Regions from separate parts of the Homo sapiens genome. Here region 2 is linked to region 1. Evidence: promoter capture Hi-C in 16 types of primary human blood cells and fetal thymus (Javierre and others, 2016). All regions are on one chromosome and are shown on one strand. The core of a region is centred on a gene start or on the middle of the fragment in contact, and the rest is flanking DNA. Distances in the headings are between cores, read along the strand shown.

The links. The method cuts DNA at HindIII sites, captures the fragments that hold promoters and counts their contacts. A CHiCAGO score of 5 or more calls a contact.
Region 2: a fragment that was not itself captured here is called in contact with the fragment with the promoter of VIL1 in region 1 in 2 of 17 cell types (monocytes and neutrophils); the score reaches 6.8 in monocytes.

The regions. Positions count from the first base shown.
Region 1 is chr2:218,416,649-218,420,926 of GRCh38, forward strand. It overlaps VIL1 (villin 1), which reads left to right and starts at 2,475. Exons shown (of 20, transcript NM_007127.3): 1 at 2,475-2,520. The HindIII fragment of the contact is 19,335 bases long and covers 1-4,278 here.
Region 2 is chr2:218,345,231-218,349,508 of GRCh38, forward strand. It overlaps PNKD (PNKD metallo-beta-lactamase domain containing), which reads left to right. Exons shown (of 10, transcript NM_015488.5): 10 at 1-1,563. All of the region lies in intron 2 of CATIP-AS2 (CATIP antisense RNA 2), which reads right to left. Among named protein-coding and RNA genes, the nearest start is that of MIR6810, 5.5 kb to the left of the region's middle. RefSeq lists an enhancer at 3,684-4,234. The HindIII fragment of the contact is 175 bases long and covers 2,104-2,278 here.

The sequences.
Region 1 (4,278 bases), core at 1,225-3,724:
ATGGAAAATTCTAGAAATAAACCATTCATAAGTTTTAAATTACACAGTATTCTCAGTAGCGTGATGGGATCTCCCACCGCCCCACTCCATCCCACCTGAAACGTGAGTCATCCCTTTGTCCACTACCTCCACATGCTGCATGCTCCCTGATGGGCATTTAGCAGCCGTGTGGGCTATCAGATCCACTGTCATGGCATTGCAGGGCTTGTGTTCAAAGTAACCCTTATTGGGCCGGGCGCAGTGGCTCACGCCTGTAATCCCAGCACTTTGGGAGGCCTAGGTGGGCGGATCACTTGAGGTTAGGAGTTTGAGACCAGCCTGGCCAACATGGTGAAACCATGTCTCTGATAAAAATACAAGAAAAATTAGCTGGGTGTGGTGGTATGCACCTGTAGTCCAGCTACTCGGGAGGCTGAGATGGGAGAATTGCTTGAACCCAGGAGGCAGATGTTGCTGTGAGCCGAGATCATGCCATTGCACTCCAGCCTCGGTGACAGAGCGAGACTTCATCTCCAAAAAACAAAAATAAAGACAACCCCCCACCCAAAGTAACACTTATTTTACTAAATAATGCAAGAGTAGCGATGCTGGCAATTTGGAAGTGCCAAAAAGAAGCCATAAAATGTTTCCTTTAAATGAAAAGGTAATAGTTCTCAATAAGGAAAGAACAAAAAACATCATATACTGAGGTTGCTAAGATCTATGATAAGAATGCATCTTCTGTTCATGAAATTGTGAAGAAGGAAACAGAAATTTGTGTTAATTTTGCTGGTGTACCTCAAACTGCAAAATGCAGCCACAGTGCAGGATAAGTGCTAATGAAAATAGAAGGGGCTTCAATTTGTGGGTGGAAGACACGAACAGAAACATGCTCCAGCTGATGGCAGCCAGGTTCGGTACGATCCGAGGTTTTAAGGCATCCACTGCGGGTCCTGGAATGTATCCCCCGTTGGATAAGGGGGGGACTACTGTACATTTGGTCTCCAGAACTCTTGGGAGGCTGTGATGAGAAGGACGTACTGCCCTCACCCAGCCCACTTCACGTCACCCTCCTAAGGACCAGGCTTCACAGGTGATAGGAGAATTTCTGCAGTCTGGGAGGCAGCTGCCCAAGGTGCTGAGTTTGCGTGTGAAGCTGGTTTCTCAGCGAGATCCACGCTGGAGTTGGCTGCACAACTTTCCTGCCTGAGTGAGATGGATCCCCTAGGGTCAGGGGTCAGACATGGAAACCTTGGCTTCTGGGAGAGGGTAGCAGAACAGAGTTCAAAGGCACTGGTTTATGGCATCTCATAAAAACTCCAGGTGGGCCGGGTGCAGTGGCTCACGCCTGTAATCCCAGCACTTTGGGAGGCCGAGGTGGGCGGATCACGAGGTCAAGAGTTCAAGACCAGCCTGGCCGACATGGTGAAACCCCGTCTCTACTAAAAATACAAAAATTAGCTGGGCGTGGTGGTGTGCGGCTGTAATCCCAGCTACTCGGGAGGCTGAGGCAGGAGAATCACTTGAACCCAGGAGGCGGAGGATGCAGTGAGATGAGATCACGCCACTGCACTCCAGCCTGGGCGACAGAGACAGACTCCATCTCAGCAAAAAAAACGAAAACAAAAAAAACACTCCAGGTGGAGCCAGTGCCCCTAAGGGTGGAGAGGAGGAGCAGTTGTGCTCACTGGGGCCCTTGCTAAGTGAGGGTCATGCTGAGAAGAGACCTCTAGGAGACCTCTAAGAGACCTCCCATCTGTTCTGGAGGGGCCCTGAGTATAAGTCCCTGCATTCCTGGGTTTGGGGCTTCTGCAACCCTAGAGTCCTGCCTCTCTTTCTCCATGAACCATTCACCCCAGGGCAGGTGGGAGGACAGCTGAGCCTCCTTCTCTTGGTTGGTAGGAGGAAAGGTTCAGGCGCCGCTGACCCTACCTGGACAGTGCTGTCTGCCTGTGGTGAGGGCCTGGGCCCTGGGCAGAAAAGCACCCCATCCCTTGCTCACTCAGAAGCCAAGGGAGGGGCTGGGCGCCGGGCCTCACACCTGTAATCCCAGCACTTTGGGAGGTCGAGGCAGGTGGATCATTTGAGGTCAGGAGTTCAAGTCCAGCCTGGCCAACATGGTGAAACCCTGTCTCTGCTAAATATACAAAAATTAGCCAGGCATGGTGGCACATGTCTGTAGTCCCAGTTACTTGGGAAGCTGAGGCAGGAGAATCACTTGAACTTGGGAGGCGGAGGTTGCAGTGAGTCGAATTCATACCACTGCACTCCAGCCTGAATGACAGAGTGAGGCTCAAAAAAAAAAAAAAGCCAAGGGTGGGGCACATCAGCTCTCATTGTCAGGCTGTGGAGGGCTCTGGGCTCCCAGGGACCTGGCAGCACCTGCCTCCCCACCCCCTCACCTCTCTGGGGCCCTATCTTCCCTTATATGGTGAAGGCAGTTCCTAGAGGAGGGGGGGTGGGGACAAAGGTCGCTCTTCTGCAGCCAGCTTGCCACAATTCCCTGAGATCTCCCAGGTGGCAGCTGCCTCCCCAAGACAGGTAAGGCAACCTGGTGGGAACACATGGAGACCTTAGGTGGTGCGAGGGGACGGGGTCCTCTGCTTTTCTCGGGCAACTTGGGGCCTCCTGGAGCACCTTGGTACGGGCTCGAAGGGGAGGCTTGACACTCTGGATAGCGTGAGAAGTGCTGGGAGCCCAGTGTGTCTGCCCTGGGCCTCCAGGGAGAGACTTTTGCAGGCCCTGCCCCAGACAATGGCTCTCTCAGTCTCCTACCTGTGGCTAGCCCCATCCCACTTTGGGTGTCACCATCCCAATTGCCCTGGAACTTCTAGAGTTAAAACCAGGACAGTGCTGGGCAGACCGGGACTAGTTGGTCTCCCTGACCTCACTCCCCGAGCCCCCTCCCCACCAGCTCATCTCTTTGCCCGTGCGTTCTTCATCTGAAGTGTTTTTTTCTTTGTGTCACCATTCCTCTGACACTCCTGGGACCTCCGGGTCCTGCCTCCTGGCTCCTAGCATATGAGCAACAGCCACCAGCAATTGAATGGGCACACACAGAGGCAAGGGCAGAGGCAAGGGGCTGGAGGTGGCAGGGCCTTAGGTCCTGGGCCATGCCGGGCCACCCTAGCATGCACCTCTGCCCCATCTCCCCTCTACCCGGAGCTGCCCCATTGGCCTCCCCAGCCACTGTGGGCCCATTCAGCAGAACTAGGAATGGGAGCTAGCTGCAGACCAGGCTCTGAGGACACACTGGCTGCTGTCTTCTCGGGACATCATCTGCTGGGGCAGAGCCTTTGGGCTGGAGGGTCTTGGCGGGTGTCCATTCCCTCTTCTATCATGAGCCTGGGAAGCAGGAGGATGTCCTTTGTCTGAGGGGTGGGACTTCACCCCCACTGCCCCACCACATTCCTGTCCAGCTCAGAGCTGCACGACTGGGAACTAGGAGCCGTGGCAGCACCCCACTTACAACAGAGCCGCAACTCAAGTACAACAGGGCTCAGATAAGAAAGGCATGGTGGGCCAGGTGCAGAGCCTCATGCTTGGAATCCCAGCACTTTGGGAGGCCAAGTGGGGTGGATCACTTGAGGTCAGGACTTCAAGACCAGCCTGACCAACATAGTGAAACCCCGTTTCTACTAAAAATACATAATTAGCTGGGTGTGCTCGCGCACGCCTATAGTCCCAGCTACTCGGGAGGCTGAGGCACGAGAATCGCTTGAACCCAGGAGGCGGAGATGACAGTGAGCCAGAATTGCACCATTGCACTCCAGCCTGGGTGACAGAGTGAGACTCTGTCTCAAAAAAAAAAAAAAAAAAAGAAAAGAAAAAAAGAAAAAAGAAAGAAAGGCAAGATGGACCTGCAGACAGTGGGAGCCCAAACCCCTCCAGTGCCCTGGGAGGGTCCTCCTTCCATCCCACAGTTCAGCCTTTCAGCATCATGAGTATTTGTTTTTTTTTTTTTTGTTTTTTTTTTGAGAAGGAGTCTCACTCTTTCATCCAGGCTGGAGTGCAGTGGCGTGATCTCAGCTCACTGCAGGCTCCACCCCCTGGGTTCACGCCATTCTCCTGCCTCAGCCTCCCGCGTAGCTGGGACTACAGGCGCCCACCATCTCGCCCGGCTAATTTTTTGTATTTTTAGTAGAGACAGGGTTTCACCGTGTTAGCCAGGATGGTCTTGATCTCCTGACCTCGTGATCCGCCTGCCTCGGCCTCCCAAAGTGCTGGGATTACACGCGTGAGCCACCACGCCCAGCCCATGAGTATTTGTTGAGCACCTACTATGTGCTAGGAGCTGGG
Region 2 (4,278 bases), core at 941-3,440, 72 kb before region 1:
TCTCGGGACATCTCCAGACCCTACCAACTGGGAGGGTCCCCTCCTCCTTCCCTACTCCTGGGACGGCAGCAAGGACATGGGGGCTGCTGTTAGCTTCTCCGTCAGGAGGCCTCATCTCACTGTAGCCCTGGAACCCAGGGTCCATCTTGCCCTTCCCCCATCCATGGTTGGGAAAGAAGCTCAGCCCCTCACAGTGGCCTCAAGTGTGATGCCTTACAAAAGCACCACTCAGATGGGCAGCTGGACTCTGGTGTCCTGAGACTCTGCCCTCTTCCCACAGCCTCCCTGCCCCACCCATCCCTGCAAAGCCATTTTTCAGACAGAGCCATTCCTAAGAACACTGAAGGGCTGGAATGCTGGCTGGCCACTCTCTGCCTCAGTGGCCTCCCTACAGCCTGGAAGAAGGAGGGTCCTGATTGCCAAGGAAACCTCCTCATTGGGCTAAGGAGACACTGGAGTCTGGAGTGTGGAGCCCCACAGTCTTGCAGGTCACATGCTCTCCTTGCACATCTGGCCTGGTTGTACCCACTGGCCTCTGCCTCTGCCCTGGGCCAAAAGGGCCCCTCCTTGCCAGGGGAGAGACAGCCACGGTCCTCTTTGGCCGATGCTGTATTCTCATTTTGGCCCTTGTTCTTAGGCCCGTCTGCCCGCCTTCCTCCATCTAACCTTTCCTGTTTTATCCGCAGCCCTTTTCTTCTTTGAGTTAGTAAAGATTTATTCTGTAACCTGACACTCATCTGGCCCTTTGCAGTTTGCCAGCCATATTCCCATGTGATTTCCCACTGGATCCAGGCCCCCATCCGGCTGGCAGGAGGGGGCTCTGACGTGCAGGTTGGAAATCAGAAGTCTGTGAGAGCGCGGGAGTGCATGGCAGCTCTGGGTCCCAGACCTGGCCCGACCCCTCTGCTTCACCTCCAGCTCTGCTGCTCCTCTACTCTTGGGTCGAGATCCCTTTGGAGCCACAGCGAGGAACCCTGTGGTCCTCAGGCAGGTGTACCTTGAGTCAGCCAGGAGCCCTCTTTTCCTGTGTCAAAGCCTGCCCTCGGGCTCTGCTCACCTCTGGTGACCCTCCAAGATGCCCCTGCCCTCAGTTTCCCCTCATGATCTGGCCTCTGCCCCCTTCTCTAGCCACAGCCTCTAGTACACTTTAGCAATACCACCAGACTAGTTAGAGTTCCCCACTCACCAAGCAAGACATGCAGTTTCATGCCTCTGTGCCTTCGCTCATGCTGTTTCTTCCGACTGGAATGCCTTCCCCTGCTCCTCCTGCCTTGTCTGCCTGGCAAGTTCATCTCTCACGATCCCCTCAAAGGCCCCCTCCTCCAGGAAGGCAACCCCTGTGCCCCTCCCCTCCAGGCTACCTCTGCACTTTGTCAATGCTTCTCTTGTGGCACTTATCACACTGTATTTTACTTGTTTACATGTTTGTCTCCCCTTCTAGACTGTGAATCCTTAAGGGCATGGACTGTATCTTATGCATCTCTGTATTTCTGCGCCTAGCACGGTGCCTAGCACACAGTAGGCGCTCAATAAATGTTGAATGAATGAATGATTTAATCAAGACTTGATCACCCAACAGCTTGTCTTTGTTGCTACATGAGTGAAAACAGCAGAGAACTTTCTCACAGTTTTCCCATCTCAGTTCCAGGCCTGCTAACTTGCAGTTAGGCACTTCAAGAGTTTTGATCAGAAATGATGCCCAAAGGCTGGGCGCAGTGGCTCACACCTATAATCCCAGCTCTTTAGGAGGCTGAGGCGGGTGGATCACAAGGTCAGGAGTTCGAGACCAGTCTGGCCAACATAGTGAAACCTCATCTGTACTACAAATACAAAAAATTAGCCAGACATAGTGGCAGGAGCCTATAATCCCAGCTACTCAGGAGGCTGAGGCAGGAGAATCACGTGAACCCAGGAGGCGGAGGTTGCAGTGAGCCGAGATCGCACCACTGCACTCCAGCCTGGGCGACAGAATGAGACTCTGTCTCAAAAAAAAAAAAAATTTTTTTAAAAAGAGAGAGAGAAATGATGCCTAAAATATGTTCTTCCCAAGGCCCATGGGCATTTGTTCAGGGTTTACGATTTGCTTATCTCAATGTTTCCCAAAGCTTGAGATACACAAGTGTACCACTGGCCAAAGTAGGGTGGCTGTACATGGCCACAGCACAGCAATCAATTGGACTTCAAGGACACGGTCTTGGCACTAGTCTGTCTTTAATGTCTTTGGAAAGAAAGACCCGGGATCCAGGTTCATACTTTAGTTGGGAAATGTCTGTAGTTAAGCTTTAACAACATCGTTTTGTTTTCATTATATTTATATTTGGGTTCAATATTTATTTTTGACAAGTGACACTGGTTTTCAGTTCATAAAAATGATTAAAGGGCCGGGCGTGGTGGCTCACGCCTGTAATCCCAGCACTTTGGGAGGCTGAGGCAGGCGGATCACGAGGTCAGGAGATCACGACCATCCTGGCCAACATGGTGAAACCCCGTCTCTACTAAAAATACAAAACTTAGCAAGGCATGATGGTGAGCGCCTGTAATCCCAGCTACCCAGGAGACTGAGGCACGAGAATCGCTGAACCCGGGAGGCAGAGGTTGAAGTAGGCCAAGATCGCACCACTGTACTCCAGCCTGGGCAACAGAGGGAGATTCTGTCCCAAAAAAAAAAAAGATGAAATTTGGGTGGGGACAAAAAGCCACACCATATCATTATAATAGAACAACTTATATTCCTTTGGGTATATAACCAGTAATGGGATTGCTGGGTCGAATGGTAGTTCTGTCTTTAGGTCTTTGAGGAAACACCACACTGTCTTCCACTTTGGTTGAACAAATTTACACTCCCGCCAACAGTGTATAAGCGTTCCTTTTACTCTACAACCTTTCCAGCGTCTGTTATTTTTTGACTTTTTAATAACAGCCATTCTGACTTGTGTGAGATGGTATCTCATTGTGGTTTTGATTTGCATTTCTCTAATGATGAGTGATGTTGAGCTTTTATTCATATGTTTGTTGTCCACATGTATGTCTTCTTTTATTTATTTATTTATTTATTTTTAATTGATCATTCTTGGGTGTTTCTCGCAGAGGGGGATTTGGCAGGGTTATAGGACAATAGTGGAGGGAAGGTCAGCAGATAAACAAGTGAACAAAGGTCTCTGGTTTTCCTAGGCAGAGGACCCTGCGGCCTTCCGCAGTGTTTGTGTCCCTGGGTACTTGAGATTAGGGAGTGGTGATGACTCTTAACGAGCATGCTGCCTTCGAGCATCTGTTTAACAAAGCACATCTTGCACCGCCCTTAATCCATTTAACCCTGAGTGGACACAGCACATGTTTCAGAGAGCACAGGGTTGGGGGTAAGGTCATAGATCAACAGCATCCCAAGGCAGAAGAATTTTTCTTAGTACGGAACAAAATGGAGTCTCCTATGTCTACTTCTTTCTACACAGACACAGCAACAATCTGATTTCTCTATCTTTTCCCCGCATTTCCCCCTTTTCTATTCCACAAAACCACCATCGTCATCATGGCCCGTTCTCAATGAGCTGTTGGGTACACCTCCCAGATGGGGTGGCCGCCAGGCAGAGGGGCTCCTCACTTCCCAGAAGGGGTGGCCGGGCAGAGGCGCCCCCCACCTCCCAACGGGGCGGCGGCCGGGCGGAGGCGCCCCCAACCTCCCGGACGGGGCGGCTGGCCGGGCGGGGGCTGTCCCCCCCTCCCTCCCTGATGGGGCGGCTGGCCGGCCGGGGGCTGGACCCCGCCTCCCTCCCGGACGGGGCGGCTGTCTTCTTTTTTTTGTTTTTTGAGACAGAGTCTCCCTCTGTCACCAGGCTGGAGTGCAGTGGTGCGATCTCGGCTCACTACAACCTCCACCTCCCGGGTTCAAGCGATTCTCCTGCCTCAGCCTCCCAAGTAGCTGGGACTACAGGTGCATGCCACACACCCAGCTAATTTTTCGTATTTTTAGTCGAGACAGGGTTTCACCGTGTTAGCCAGGATGGCCTTGATCTCCTGACCTTGTGATCCGCCCACCTCAGCCTCCCAAAGTGCCAGGATTACAGGGGCGTGAGCCACCTCACCTGCCAATTTCTTTCTTTTTTTTTTTTTTTTTTTTTTGAGACTGAGTCTTGCTCTGTTGCCCAAGACTGGAGTGCAGTGGCACGATCTCTGCTCACTGCAAGCCCCGCCTCCCAGGTTCACACCATTCTCCTGCCTCAGGCTCCTGAGTAGCTGGGACTACAGGCGCCCACCACCACGCCCGGCTCATTTTTTGTATTT